4 separate regions of the Homo sapiens genome follow, and all the other regions are linked to region 2. The links are contacts of gene promoters, found by promoter capture Hi-C in blood cells and fetal thymus (Javierre and others, 2016). All regions are on one chromosome and are shown on one strand. Each heading gives the region's core, a stretch centred on a gene start or on the middle of the fragment in contact. The rest is flanking DNA. Distances are from core to core; before and after follow the strand shown.

Region 1 (3,287 bases), core at 353-2,852, 210 kb before region 2:
CTGCACCCGGCCAATTAATTTTTTTTAAGAGACAGGGTCTTACTGTCACCCAGGCTGGAGTGCAGTGGCACAATCATAGCTGACTGTAACCTCAAACTCCTGGGCTAAAGTGATCCTCCCGCCTCAGTCTCCTGAATAGCTAGAACTATAGGTGAATACCATCACACCCAGCCAATTTACTTTTTTTTGTAGAGATAGGGTCTCGCCGTGCTGCCCAGGCTGGTCTCAAACTCCTGGCCTCAAGTGATCCTCCCACTTCTGCCTCCCAAAGTGCTGGGATTACAGGCATGAGCCACCATGCCCAGCTTGGAATATATTTTTTAATTAGCCTAATTCATTGTTTTTAATTGTTCAAAAAAAAATTTGTAAAATAACACATGATATCTCTCCATAAAAAGAAGAAAATTTGAAGGAAATTAATGTGAGTAAAAACCATACAATTTCTAACCTTAGTCATGAGGCAACTGTAGGAAAGAGAGAACACATAACAGGTGTTACAATTACATAGCATCTGTTTATACACAAAAATGGCACCCGATTAATAAAGAATGCATCCATACACATGCTTGAGGGGATGAATACCCCATTTTCCATGATGTGATTACACATTGCATACCTGTATCAAAATATCTCATGTACCCCATAAATATGTGCATCTATATACCCCCCAAATCGTTTTTAACTTTTAAAAAATAAAAATAAAGTATAAGAATATATCCATAAAGAAAAAAGAAATAAAATAAGAAAAAGACAAAAAAAGAAAAAGAAATAAAAAGAATACATCCATAAAGAGCAGTTTCTCATCACTATAATCTTATTTCAAAACATGAGCTAAATCTAGAGCTATATTAAGCAGTCTCTCCTTCAATGGTAATTACCTTCTTAGGAGGCTCTTGTTTCTGAGTATATATGTTCGTTTTCCCAAAGCCCTGGCCAAACTTGACTACTGCTCCATCCACAATGAAGGTAACAGGAGCATTCTTTGGCTGGGATTGGTAGAAGAGCGGCAGTCCACACCTGCAATGACACAGTGAATTTCTGCGAGGTCTCATAATCCAAATTCCCAAAACAGCAATTTGCAAAGTGTGCTTAGACTCTGGGAATATTTCTGTTTGTGGCATAAACTAATGACTGGCTCTTCTCAGTGTCTCCCAAAACTACCTCTACCTGATAAGAATCACTTAGGCCGGGCGTGGTGGCTCACGCCTGTAATCTCAGCACTTTGGGAGGCCGAGGCAGGTGGATCACCTGAGATCAGGAGTTCAAGACCAGCCTGGCCAACATGGCAAAACCCCATCTCTACTCAAAATACAAAAATTAGCCAGGCATGGTGGCAGGTGCCTGTAATCCCAGCTACTCGGGAGGTTGACACAGGAGAACTGCTTGAACCCGGGAGGTGGAGGTTGCAGTGAGTGGAGATCATGCCACTGCACTCCAGCCTGGGCAACAAGAGCAAGACTCTGTCTCAAAAAAAAAAATTCATTTTTCTGGCCAGCTGGTCAAAGATACAACTTTGACTAGCCTCTTTGGGGAACATATTGGTATTTGTGCATAGTTGAAGTCTGAAGGCAGTTGATAAGGATAAAGACATAATGGGGGTCGGACGAGGTGGCTCAGGCCTGTAATCCCAGCAGTTTTGGAGGCTGAGGTGGGCGGATGAACTCAGGTCAGGAGTTCGAGACCAGCCTGACCAACATGTTGAAACCCTGTCTCTACTAAAATACAAAAATTAGCCAGGCATGGTGGCATGTGCCTGTAATCCCAGCTACTAGAGAGGCTGAGGCAGGAGAATCGCTTAAACCCAGGAGGCAGAGGTTAAGGTGACCTGAGATTGCACCACTGCACTCCAGCCTGGGCGACAGAGCAAGACTCTGTCTCAAAAAAAAAAAAAAAGACATAATGGAGAGTTGTATCCAAATAATTATTTTCCTAACACATTATGCCTCTACTTGCCTATGCTTGGAGAAACCCACATTGTTAATACTTACTTTGCACATTTCTTCCTGTACTGTCGTTCAATGCCTTCAGGTCTGCACAGAAAATGGAAGTTAAAAAGATATGAACAAATCTCATTATGTATCAACCTTACTATCCCATTTCTTCAAACGCTAAGAGGCCCTTTCAAAAGTTTTCATTTGGGGGCCGGGCACGGTGGCTCACGCCTGTAATCCCAGCACTCTGGGAGGCTGAGGCGGGCGGATCACCTGAGGTCAGGAGTTCGAGACCAGCCTCAACATGGGGAAACCCCGTCTCTACTAAAAATACAAAATTAGCCGGGCGCAGTGGTGCATGCCTATAATCTCAGCTACTCGGGAGGCTGAGGCAGGAGAATTGCTTGAACCTGGGAGGCGGAGGTTGCGGTGAGCCGAGAGCGAGCCATTGCACTCCAGCCTGGGCAACAAGAGTGAAACTCCGTCTCAAAAAAAAAAAAAAAAAAAAGTTTTCATTTCATAGGTCAACTCATTGGTTCAACATTCCTCCCTTCCTGCAACAAACATTTATGGAGCCCCTGATACAGGTCAGGTATCTCCCTGACAAAGGAAGAGGAAGAGGAGGAGCAGTGTAGTCATAATCATAGGTAGCAATAGTAGTTGTAGTAATAACAACAACAATAATAGCGGCAACCACTTATAAACCCTTTACTATGTGCCAAGAGCTATTCTAAAGTATACATGTATTAACTCGGCTGGGCACGGTGGCTCACGCCTGCAATCCTAGCACTTTGGGAGGCCCAGGTGGGTGGATCATTTGAGGTAAGGAGTTCGAGACTATCCTGGCCAACATGGGGAAACTCCGTCTCTACTAAAAATATAAAAATTAGCTGGGCGTGGTGGCGGATGCCTGTAATCCCAGCTACTCAGGAGGCTGAGGCAGGAGAATCACCTGAACCTGGAAGGCAGAGGCTGCAGTGAGCCGAGTTCACGCCACTGCACTCCAGCCTGGGTGACGGAACGAGACTCCATCTCAAAAAAAAAAAAAAAAAGTATACATGTATTAACTCATTTAATCCTTACAACAACTCTGTGAGGTATGTCATATTATTATTCCCACTTTATGAATGAAGAACCTAGGCCCACAGAGTATTACATGGCTTGCCCAAAGTCGTGGAGCTAGGAAGCAGAGGTTGAATTTAAGCCCAGGCAGTCAAGCTCAAGAGCCCACACAATACCACCTTAGACACCAAGTCATATACACAAGGACTCAATTCCACCCACACGGCTGTTTAACAGAAACCTGGGACTCATCCTTGATTCTTCTCTTCCCCTCATCTCCCACACTTACTTCAT
Region 2 (3,385 bases), core at 173-2,672:
ACTGGGGACAGTAATGATTCCCAGCACTTGAGGTCACTGGGAGGATTAAAAGAGTTAACATATATAACGCAACAAGCACAGTGCCTGGCACATAGTAAATGTTCAAAACCAAATTACAAATGCATAAACTGTTCTGAAGGAAAGCTCTAGATATTTAGGACTTGTTCCAAATACGTGAGGGCCAAGGAAGAAAAGCTTCCGATACCTTCTATCACTGCTGCCACAGGTGGCCCCGAGGGAGTGGGCTGATTTGGCCTGAGCCTCCATCCCCCTTGGCCTAGACTGCTGGAACAGTCTTCCGACTTCCTGCCTCTGCACCTCCCAAATCACCTTTTTAACACAACCTCCATCATGGCTGTGTCTCTCCCCGGCTCAACAATCTTCTATGGCTCCCCGTTGCTCACTGACTGAGCTCCTTAAGATGCTGGGGGTGTGGAGGCAAGAACCACTATTTACTAAGGGAAGGGAAGAGCAAAGAGTACGCTGGTATTAGGAGTGAAAAAGAAAAAATATCCTTTTTTAAAAAGCCCCTAAGCTTTGAATTTGTAGAAAGCGGGGCCCTGGGGAGAGAGCAGGGATGCATCTCTAAAGAGAACAGGGCGCTCCTGCGGCGCCGGCTCAGATTCACCTGTAGCTGCTTCTCCAAGCCAACCTGGGAAAATTGACGGGAGGGAAGAGGGTGGAGAGCAGGACAGAGAGGGCGGTGCAGAAGGGGAATATCCCTCCTGAGTTCCCTGGAAGAGCGTCAGCCTGGACCCTGGTCTTGGGCTTCTCTGCTGGAATCCTGGGCAGCCCCGGGTGCTGCGGCGAGGGTCAAGGCCACACAAAGGGCAAGGCAGGCAGACGAGCCAGTCACATGGGGCAGTCGAGCTGCCTGCGTGAATGCTAGGCGCGGGACAATGGCAACTCCGGGACAAAGTGCAGGGAGACTCCTGAAGAGATAAGAGGGAAGGGCGAAGGAAGGGGGCGGGGAGCCAGAGCCTCGGAGCTCCAGGACCGCGCTTTGGGAGACCGTGGCTGGAAGCCGAGCTCGGCCCGCTGCGGAAGGGGCGCCCTCGCGCCTCTACACTCTAGCCCCGGCTGGGATGCTGAGAACCGCGGCTTCCAGGGCCGCAGGCGAGCTCCCAGCCAGTCCCCGCGCCCGCCCTTCGGTGCTGGAGGCGGGGCTGCCGAGCTCACCTGGCCGTTTGGGGTGGGACCGCCCGCGACCCGGGGGAGCTGCAGAGGCGGCGGTACCCAGGGAAGTGGAGCTGGGCTTGCCCTGGGGACTTGGCTGGAGCTCACACCCCTCCACGCCCCCCAAGGCCTGCGCGGGGGCCCTCCCCTAGCTCCCTCCCTCCTCCTCCTCCTCCTCCTCCTCCTCTCCTTTGCTCCCTCCCTCCGAACCCAATTGCTCAAGCAGCTTCCTTCCCCAACGCCAGCGCCAGTTCCTCTCCCGTTGGGGCCCGGGAAGGGCAGCTAACGCTGGACACTGGGACGGCCGCGGCGGCAGCTTCAAGACCATGGCCCAGCTCGGAGGGGCCGCGAACCGGGCACCCACGGCCTCTCTCGCGCCGACCTCGCAGAGCCTGCGGTGCGCCCCGCAGCCCCGCCCCTCGAGAGCGGACACTGGTAGCCTGGGCAGGTACTGGGGCAAAGCCGCAGCCGCCGCCTCCCGGGAGCACCCCTTCCCAGGCACGCTGATGCACTCTGCAGCGGGCTCAGGGCGCCGGCGGGGAGCGCTGCGGGAACTGCTGGGGCTGCAGCGGGCGGCTCCTGCGGGGTGGCTGTCGGAGGAGCGCGCCGAGGAGCTGGGCGGGCCGAGTGGGCCGGGCAGCAGCAGGCTGTGCCTGGAACCGCGGGAGCACGCGTGGATTCTGGCAGCCGCCGAGGGCCGCTATGAGGTGCTGCGGGAGCTGCTGGAGGCTGAGCCGGAGCTGCTGCTGCGGGGCGACCCGATCACCGGCTACTCGGTTCTGCACTGGCTGGCCAAGCACGGGCGCCACGAGGAGCTCATTCTGGTACACGATTTCGCCCTACGCCGGGGGCTGAGGCTCGACGTGAGCGCCCCAGGCAGCGGCGGCCTCACGCCCCTCCACCTGGCGGCCCTTCAGGGCCACGACATGGTCATCAAGGTGCTGGTGGGCGCCCTGGGTGCTGACGCTACGCGCCGCGACCACAGCGGCCACCGGGCCTGCCACTACCTGCGGCCCGACGCGCCTTGGAGGTTGCGGGAGCTGTCGGGAGCCGAGGAATGGGAGATGGAGAGCGGCAGCGGGTGCACCAACCTGAACAACAACAGCAGTGGCACCACTGCGTGGAGGGCCGCGAGCGCAGTGGGCGCGACGGCTGTGGAGACAAGCAGGAGAGTGGCAGCGTCGCGGACCAAGGCGAAGGACACCGCGGGCAGCCGGGTGGCGCAAATGCATAGCCTTTTCCGCCATCTGTTCCCCTCATTCCAGGACCGTTGACAGGGACAGAGACTGGAGAGCTAGGAGGGGCTGTGACACTGTGGCGATGGCTAGGTCCTGGGTTGTCCCGGGTTCCACCGAAGGAGAGGCGCCTTGGACGCTGCTTGGGCCTGCAAGGAACAGAACACGTCGGGGTCCGACTCAGGTACTTGTCTCAGGTCTCCTGTAACCACCGGCCTGGAGGACCCGGGGACTCGGGCACCACCTCACCAAGAGAGAGTGAAGGACCAAGCTGGCCTGGCTCCGAGTTCCAAAGCTACAGGACTAAGGAGTTGGGAGCAGGGAGCGTGGTCCTGCTTGGGAGAGGGCAAGTTAAGCTTCCAGGGGCCATTTCTGGGCAGGCCGACGCGCTGGGTTTATTAGGAAACATTCGCTAGAAGAATGAGTTAAGATTGTAAACCACCAATGCAGAGAAAACGCCTAACTCTGCCGGCCTCGCTCGGCCATTAATGGGTCTTGGGGTGCGGGTAGAGTCAGCCTCTGACAACCTCCTCCTGAGACGACCCAGCCTTACTGGTACTTTTTCTCATGTATCACAGGTTACTTCTTATGTATATTAAAGTGGAATATGTGTTCTTTTCACATGACAAGGCTGTCCTTTCAGTGTTTTCCCCCACCTCCCTTACTAACCACAAAGGAAGAAACTGCATATGTTTGCAGGGTAGAGGTCACCCAACCATGGCCGTGATGTTGTGCCCCCCGGGGCAGGCTCTGGGCCTCCTTCTCAGAACAAATGGCCAGAGCTGTGCACAGAAGAAGCTACTTCCACTTGGATCTGAGGAGAAACATACAGTTCACCTCTGTCCTGAGCTCTTTGATGGTCTGGCCTCAGGCACCAGCCTCATCCTAGAAGAGTTGTCATATAGGGGCCTTGGGTTGGGGGTAAAAGGCAAAAGTTTCCAAATTTACATTTCTGATATTTCCACGGTCAGTCA
Region 3 (3,104 bases), core at 248-2,747, 150 kb before region 2:
CTAGGAAAGGGGGGAAAAACAAACACACACACACCCCCACCCCCACCACAGACACACACACCTAAAACCTCACTCAGAGCCAAATGTTAATCCTTCTGATCCCATTTAGGGTAAAAAGAGGGCAATCCATTTTTACAGTAGATATATCCATTTCTTTGTTTGAGTCCAGACACATTATGCGCAAATCTACAAGCAAGGCTGACGCTGCTGCGGCTCAGAGAGCTGATACGTACCGCCTCCCCAGGAGAAGACAGTAAGACCCTGCTAGGGGGCTGCAAGTAGAGGGGGGTATTTAAGAGGAATGGAAAAAGAGAGTGGTCAGGAGGAGACTAGAACAGTGGGGTCCCCTCGCCCTTCCCCCACAACTCCAACTGTCGAATATATTCTCTGCGGATACTGCATCCTTGGAAGGCCCTACGCAGGTCCGAGATGCTGCTATTCATCATTCCCCACGTCCTCTAATACCGCCACCAACTACAATGACCACCTCTCAATAATCCTCTTCTAGGCGCTGCTTCATCTCCATCCCTGGTCCTGGAGAGGCCGCTTCCGCGATCTCTGCACCCTCCTAGCTGTTATGTCATGCCCAGCCACCACAGTCGGCCACCCCACCCCCAGGCCAATAGTGATCCCTCTAGTGCCCTCCAGCACCTCCAAATCTCCAGCCTCCAACCTATCCTCCGCATCCCGCCCCCGTCCCTATCCCAACCACCATCATCGATCCCTCCAGCGCCGTCCCTAACCCGATCCCCCATCACCGATCTCTCACCCCCGTCCCTAACCCGACACCCACACCTTCCTCACCTGCAGCCCAGGAAGACGTGGTTGGTCCAGGCGGCGGAGAGCGCGAGGAGCTGGTCGAGGGCAGCCCCGGGATAGCTGTGCAGGTGCCGACAGATGAAGCTGCGCCGCAGAGCCCACTGCCAGTCACTTTCGTGGCTATAGCGCCACTGCTCCAGCACTGGCTCGGGCGGGGGCGGCGGGAGGGGCGGCAGCGGCGGCGGCGGGAGGGGGGGCAGCGGCGGCGCGACAGGAAGTCGCCCCCCAACAGCAGACGTCCTCCAGCCATCTTCTCCGCCCCCAAGCAGGGACCCCAGGGACGAAGCCGACTACGGACCGCGAGCTAGGCAGCTAGCAAGCGGGCGGAAACGGGGGGCCGGTGGGAGGGGCCGGGTAAGGAGGGGCGCGCTGAGGGGAGAAGATCAACTCTCGGGGGGACTGGAGTGTGTGCGTGGGGGCCACCGTTAGGAGGAAAAGAGGAGCACGAGCTCGCGTCCCGACACTGGGATGCACGTCCCCTACACTCCTCTAACTCGTGGAGGAGCAGAAGGGCTTCCGCCGCACTCACGCGCGAGCCGGGGAGGCCGAGTCAGGCTCCGCACCTCCACGGATCCGCAGACCCACGCACTGCGCGGAGAGCGATAAAAGACCCCAGCACGCTCTGCTCCCCTCCTCTAGGTTCTAGCCTACCTACCCGCGTGCCGTCCGGGGTTGTGAGGCCAGTGCGCTTGCGCCGCGGCTGTTCCCTAACTTCCAAATCCCGTCGCAGAATCTCGCGCGACGTACTTTTTTCCCTCCAGTGACGACTACGGGCCTTTGACGCACTACGGTGACAAGCGGAGGGCGGGGACTCCAGAAAGGGAATTTAGGAAGGTTCTCTGAGGTTCGAGAATATGGTTAGAAGGTGCCCTCAGATGAATGTTGGTAGCCCACGGCTCGTCTGACGCTTTTCCCTGGATTTTTAAGCGGCGCGACAGTGAGACCATGTTCCTTGTAAGGGATTTAGGTCTGCACTGGACTTTACATTAAAACAAAACAAAACAGTCAGCTCCCCGAGGTGCCTTTTCTTCAGAGAGTAGCTTGAAATGCTCTGTGCATCGTGCATCATTAGCTTTGTGTAATAGCTTACTGCGGAAACGTAGTAAAAATGAAACACTTGCCAAGAAAATCATCCACAGCGCCGCTTCTCAAGTTAGCCAGTTTCAAGTCCATACTGTATCCCAATTACGAACACAGATACTGTTTACACAGTTCTGATCACGATTGCAAGTCTGTATTTCACGTATCAACTTAAGTGCAAAAGATTACAAGATACAAAAGGGGCCCACAGAAGAGGGTACTGCAAGGTAGAGCCGCTCAATCACTGTAGCCAAATGTATCACTCCACCCGGAGTCAGCTTCACTCAATAACTTCAGTCCCTATCTGCCAACCTGTGTCACGAAAGCAGTTAATCAATGAGTGTCTGTCGGCGGGAATTTACACAGCACCTACTGTGTGCTCAATACAGCAAGAGTACAAAAAAGAAGGAAAGAAAGTGGGTTTTCTCTGTTGTCCTGGAATTGACTACAATCTTGGTGGGGAGAAATAGCCCTGCATAAAACTAAATGTTCCACCAGGAGCCGGACCATTGGATGAGGTGGCTTTAACACACTACCATCTTTAACTCTTTAATGACGTATTTCTAATTATATGACACTTTATGTTAGGGGTGTATTAGACTGAGAGGAGCAGAAGATAACAGCACTTTACACACTTTCATAATTTATTTCCACGTCTGTCTTTCTCCGTGGTGGGCATTCATGTTTATTGGGGTAACAATCGAAATGTTTTTAAAAAGTTCACAAGGTGATACATGCTGTGAAGAAAATAAAACAGGCTGGGTGCGGTGGCTCACGCCTGTAATCCCAGCACTTTGGGAGGCCGAGGCAGGAGGATTACTTGAGGTCAGGAGTTCGAGACCAGCCTGGCCAACATGGTGAAACCCCTGTCTCCACTAAAAATACAAAAATTAGCCGGGCGTGGTGGCAGGCGCCTGTAATCCCAGCTACTCCGGAGGCTGAGGCAGGAGAATCGCTTGAACCCGGGAGGCAGAGGTTGCAGTGAGCCAATATCGCGCCACTACACTCCAGCCTGGGCAACAGAGTGAGACTCTGTTTCAAAAAAAAAAGAAAGAAAGAAAACAGAGCAGTGCAAAGGCAAATGACTGGGGGAACACTAGATGAGGAGTCAGGTGACCTAAATTCTCATCTCATCATTGCCAACAACTATCTCTACAGCCTTCGGCAAGACACTTCACCTCTGTGGCCTTATTTTTCTCACTCGT
Region 4 (3,079 bases), core at 245-2,744, 250 kb before region 2:
ATCCATTTTACAGTTTTTTATCCTTCACCCACTCCCACCCTCCCCTTTCTGAGTCTCTAGTGTCCATCATACCACTCCACATGCCTTTGTGTACTGATAGCTTAGCTCTCACTTCTGAGTGAGAACATACAGTATTTGGTTTTCCATTCCTGAGTTACTTCACTTAGAATAACAGCCTCCAGCTCCATCCAAGTTGCCGAAAAAGACATTATTTCATTCTTTTTCTTTTTCTTTTTTTTTCTTTTTTTGTTTGGAGATGGAGTTTTGCTCTTGTCACCCAGGTTGGAGTGCAATGGCTCGATCTCAGCTCACTGCAACCTCCGCCTCCCGGGTTCAAGTGATTCTCCTGTGTCAGCCTCCCAAGTAGCTGGGATTACAGGTGCTTGCCACCACGCCTGGCTAATTTTTGTATCATTAGTAGAGATGGGGTTTCACCACGTTGGCCAGGCTGGTCTTGTATTCCTGACCTCAGGTGATCCGCACACCTCAGCCTCAGGAGAATCGCTTGAACCCGGGAGGCAGAGGTTGCAGTGAGCCGAGATCATGCCACTGCACTCCAGCCTGGAGGGCAAGAGCAAAACTCTGTCTCAATAATAATAATAATAATAATGGCCATTCTGGCTGGGGTAAGGTGGTATCTCATTATGGTTTTAATTTGTATTTCCCTGATGATTAGTGATGTTGAGCATTTTTTATGTGTGTGTTGGCCGTTTGTATATCTTCTTTTGAGAAATGTCTCTTCGTGTCATTTGCCCCCTTTTTAATGGGATTATTTGTTTATTTGTTTTCTTGCTGATTTGTTTGAGTTCCTTGTAGATTCTGTATATTACTCCTTTGTTGGACGCATAGTTTGCAAATATTTTCTTCCATTCTGTGGGTTCTGTTTACTCTGATGATTTTTTCTTTTGCTGTGCAAGAAGCTTTTCAGTTTAATTAGGTCCCATTTATTTTTGTTTTTGTGGCATTTGCTTTTCGGGTCTTAGTCATAAATTCTTTGCCTGCCTAGGCAAAGAATGTCCAGAAGAGTTTTTCCTAGGTTTTCTTCTAGAATTTTTATGATTTCAGGTCTTAGATTTAAGTCTTTGATCCATCTCAAGTTGATTTTTGCATAAGGTGAGAGATAGGGATACAGTTTCATTCTTCTACATGGGGCTAGCCAGTTTGCCCAGCACCATTTATTGAATAGGGTATCCTTTCCCCAACTTACGTTTTCGTATGCTTTGTCAAATATCAGTTGTTTGTAAGTATTTGGCTTTATTTCTGGGTTCTCTATTCTGTTCCATTGGTCTAATATAACTACTTTTATTTTATTTTATTTTTATTATTTGAGACAGTCTCTCCCTGTTGCCCAGGCTGGAGTGCAGTGGCGTGATCTTGACCTACCGCAATCTCTGCCTCCCAGGCTCAAGTGATTCTCCTGCCTCAGCCTCCTGAGTAGCTAGGATTACAGGCACGCACCACCATGCCTGGCTAATTTTCGTACTTTCAGTAGAGATGAGGTTTCACCATGTTGGCCAGCCTAGTCTCGAACTCCTGACCTCAGGTGATCCACAAGCCTCGGCCTCCCAAAGTGCTGGGATTACAAATGTGAGCCACCGCGCCCAGTTAATGTAACTACTTTTATATCAGTACTATTTTGTTTTGGTAACTATAGCCTTGTAGTATAATTTGAAGTCCGGTAATGTGATACCTCCAGATTTGTTCTTTTTGCTTAGGATTGCTTTGGCTATTCTGGCTCTTTTTTAGTTCCATATGAATTTTAGGATTTTTTCTGATTCTGTGAAAAATGATGTTGGTATTTTGATAGGAATTGCACTGAATCTGTAGATTGCTTTGGGCAGTATGGTCATTTTCACGATATTGATTCTACCCATCCATGAGCATAGAATGTGTTTCCATTTGTTTGTGTCATCTATGATTTCTTTCAGCAGTGTTTTGTAGTTCTCCTTGTAGAGCTCTTCCAGAGAGGTATGTTTTTAATAAAATAACTTATCTTTAAATGGAAGCGAAAACGTGTGGAAAACATCCCAATTGGTGAGGCAGGGTGAAAAGAAATACTGCAATTTCTGAAAGCTTTGGATAAACTCACACCTGATAGTTTACCAAAGGACTCAAAGATGACATTTGGGTCTTCATGTTCCATGATGACCTTGTCTGAGTCAGAGGAATCCATGGCTCAGCCACAGGGTGGCATTTTATGTTCTTGTGTTCTCACATCCTTCAAACATCCTCACTGCTGCATATGCACGCCCACACCTTCTTCCCACATCCCGAAACCACTGCCCGAAGACAGGCCAGGTGATCGGCAAAATGAAGCCCCTCAGCTTCCAGTGAGCAGACAGAAGGCTTCTTCTCAGCCCCTCCTTCCCCTTGCTGCTTCCCAGGGGAGAGGCAGACTGTGGCCCTATGATTTTAGGAGCAGTCCCTGTCCCCAGTTGCAATATGGGTTCAACTCCCGACTATTTATTAGTCTTAGGCCTCTTGCTCTGCCCTATTTTATGATGTTCAGAACAACTCTATGAAAATGATAAGGCTGGCATTTTTCAATCCTGCCTCTACACTGCAGGTAGGGGTGAAGCCTCTTCAATATTGTTTTCCTGCTGAGCATGGTGGCTCACGCCTGTAATCCCAGCACTTTGGAAGGCTGAGGCAGGAGGACTGCTTGAACCCAAGAGGTCGAAGCTGCAGTGAGCTATGATTGTGCCATTGCACTCAGCCTGGGCAACAGTGAGACCCTGCCTGAGAAAGAAAAAAAAAAAGTAGTGTTTTTTTCTTACTACTTCTCTTTTCAGAATGCTTTCAACTGCCTGCTATTTTGAGTCCAAATTCGTGGCATGACCTTCAAAAACAAGTTATCATTAATTCAGCACTTACTATGTGCCAGGCGTTGAATCTCTTGTATCCCCTGAACCTAGTAACAACTGTAGGACAGGCATGCCACTATCTTTCAAATGAGTGAATAAATCCTCAGAACAGCCAGAAAAGCAGGTATTATTATTCCCCATTCTATTAATGAGGAGACTGAGGCCTAGAGAAGTTAAGCCACTTGCCTGAGGTCACAGTTAATAAGAAGAAAAAT

The links. Contacts are between HindIII fragments. The CHiCAGO score rates a contact against its expected background, and 5 or more counts as called.
Region 1: a contact is called between a fragment that was not itself captured here and the fragment with the promoter of SOWAHD in region 2, in 2 of 17 cell types (total CD4 T cells and total B cells). The highest score is 5.7, in total CD4 T cells.
Region 3: the fragment with the promoter of NKRF here is called in contact with the fragment with the promoter of SOWAHD in region 2 in 6 of 17 cell types (naive B cells, total B cells, total CD8 T cells and 3 more); the score reaches 7.0 in naive B cells.
Region 4: a contact is called between a fragment that was not itself captured here and the fragment with the promoter of SOWAHD in region 2, in 3 of 17 cell types (naive CD4 T cells, naive B cells and total CD8 T cells). The highest score is 8.3, in naive CD4 T cells.

Annotation. Positions count from the first base shown.
Region 1 is chrX:119,543,475-119,546,761 of GRCh38, forward strand. STEEP1 (STING1 ER exit protein 1) reads right to left here. Exons shown (of 7, transcript NM_022101.4): 3 at 1,989-2,030; 4 at 879-1,017. Among named protein-coding and RNA genes, the nearest start is that of STEEP1, 20 kb to the right of the region's middle. The HindIII fragment of the contact is 9,697 bases long and covers 1-3,287 here.
Region 2 is chrX:119,757,166-119,760,550 of GRCh38, forward strand. It overlaps SOWAHD (sosondowah ankyrin repeat domain family member D), which reads left to right and starts at 1,423. Exons shown (of 1, transcript NM_001105576.3): 1 at 1,423-3,037. The coding sequence starts at 1,503. The coding sequence ends at 2,450. RefSeq lists silencers at 1,173-1,322, 1,433-1,732 and enhancers at 3,284-3,353, 3,364-3,385. The HindIII fragment of the contact is 2,232 bases long and covers 534-2,765 here.
Region 3 is chrX:119,604,927-119,608,030 of GRCh38, forward strand. NKRF (NFKB repressing factor) reads right to left here and starts at 1,498. Exons shown (of 4, transcript NR_163972.1): 1 at 805-1,498. RefSeq lists a silencer at 1,032-1,081 and an enhancer at 1,622-1,731. The HindIII fragment of the contact is 11,769 bases long and covers 1-3,104 here.
Region 4 is chrX:119,508,712-119,511,790 of GRCh38, forward strand. No RefSeq gene overlaps it. Among named protein-coding and RNA genes, the nearest start is that of SLC25A5-AS1, 41 kb to the left of the region's middle. The HindIII fragment of the contact is 1,153 bases long and covers 919-2,071 here.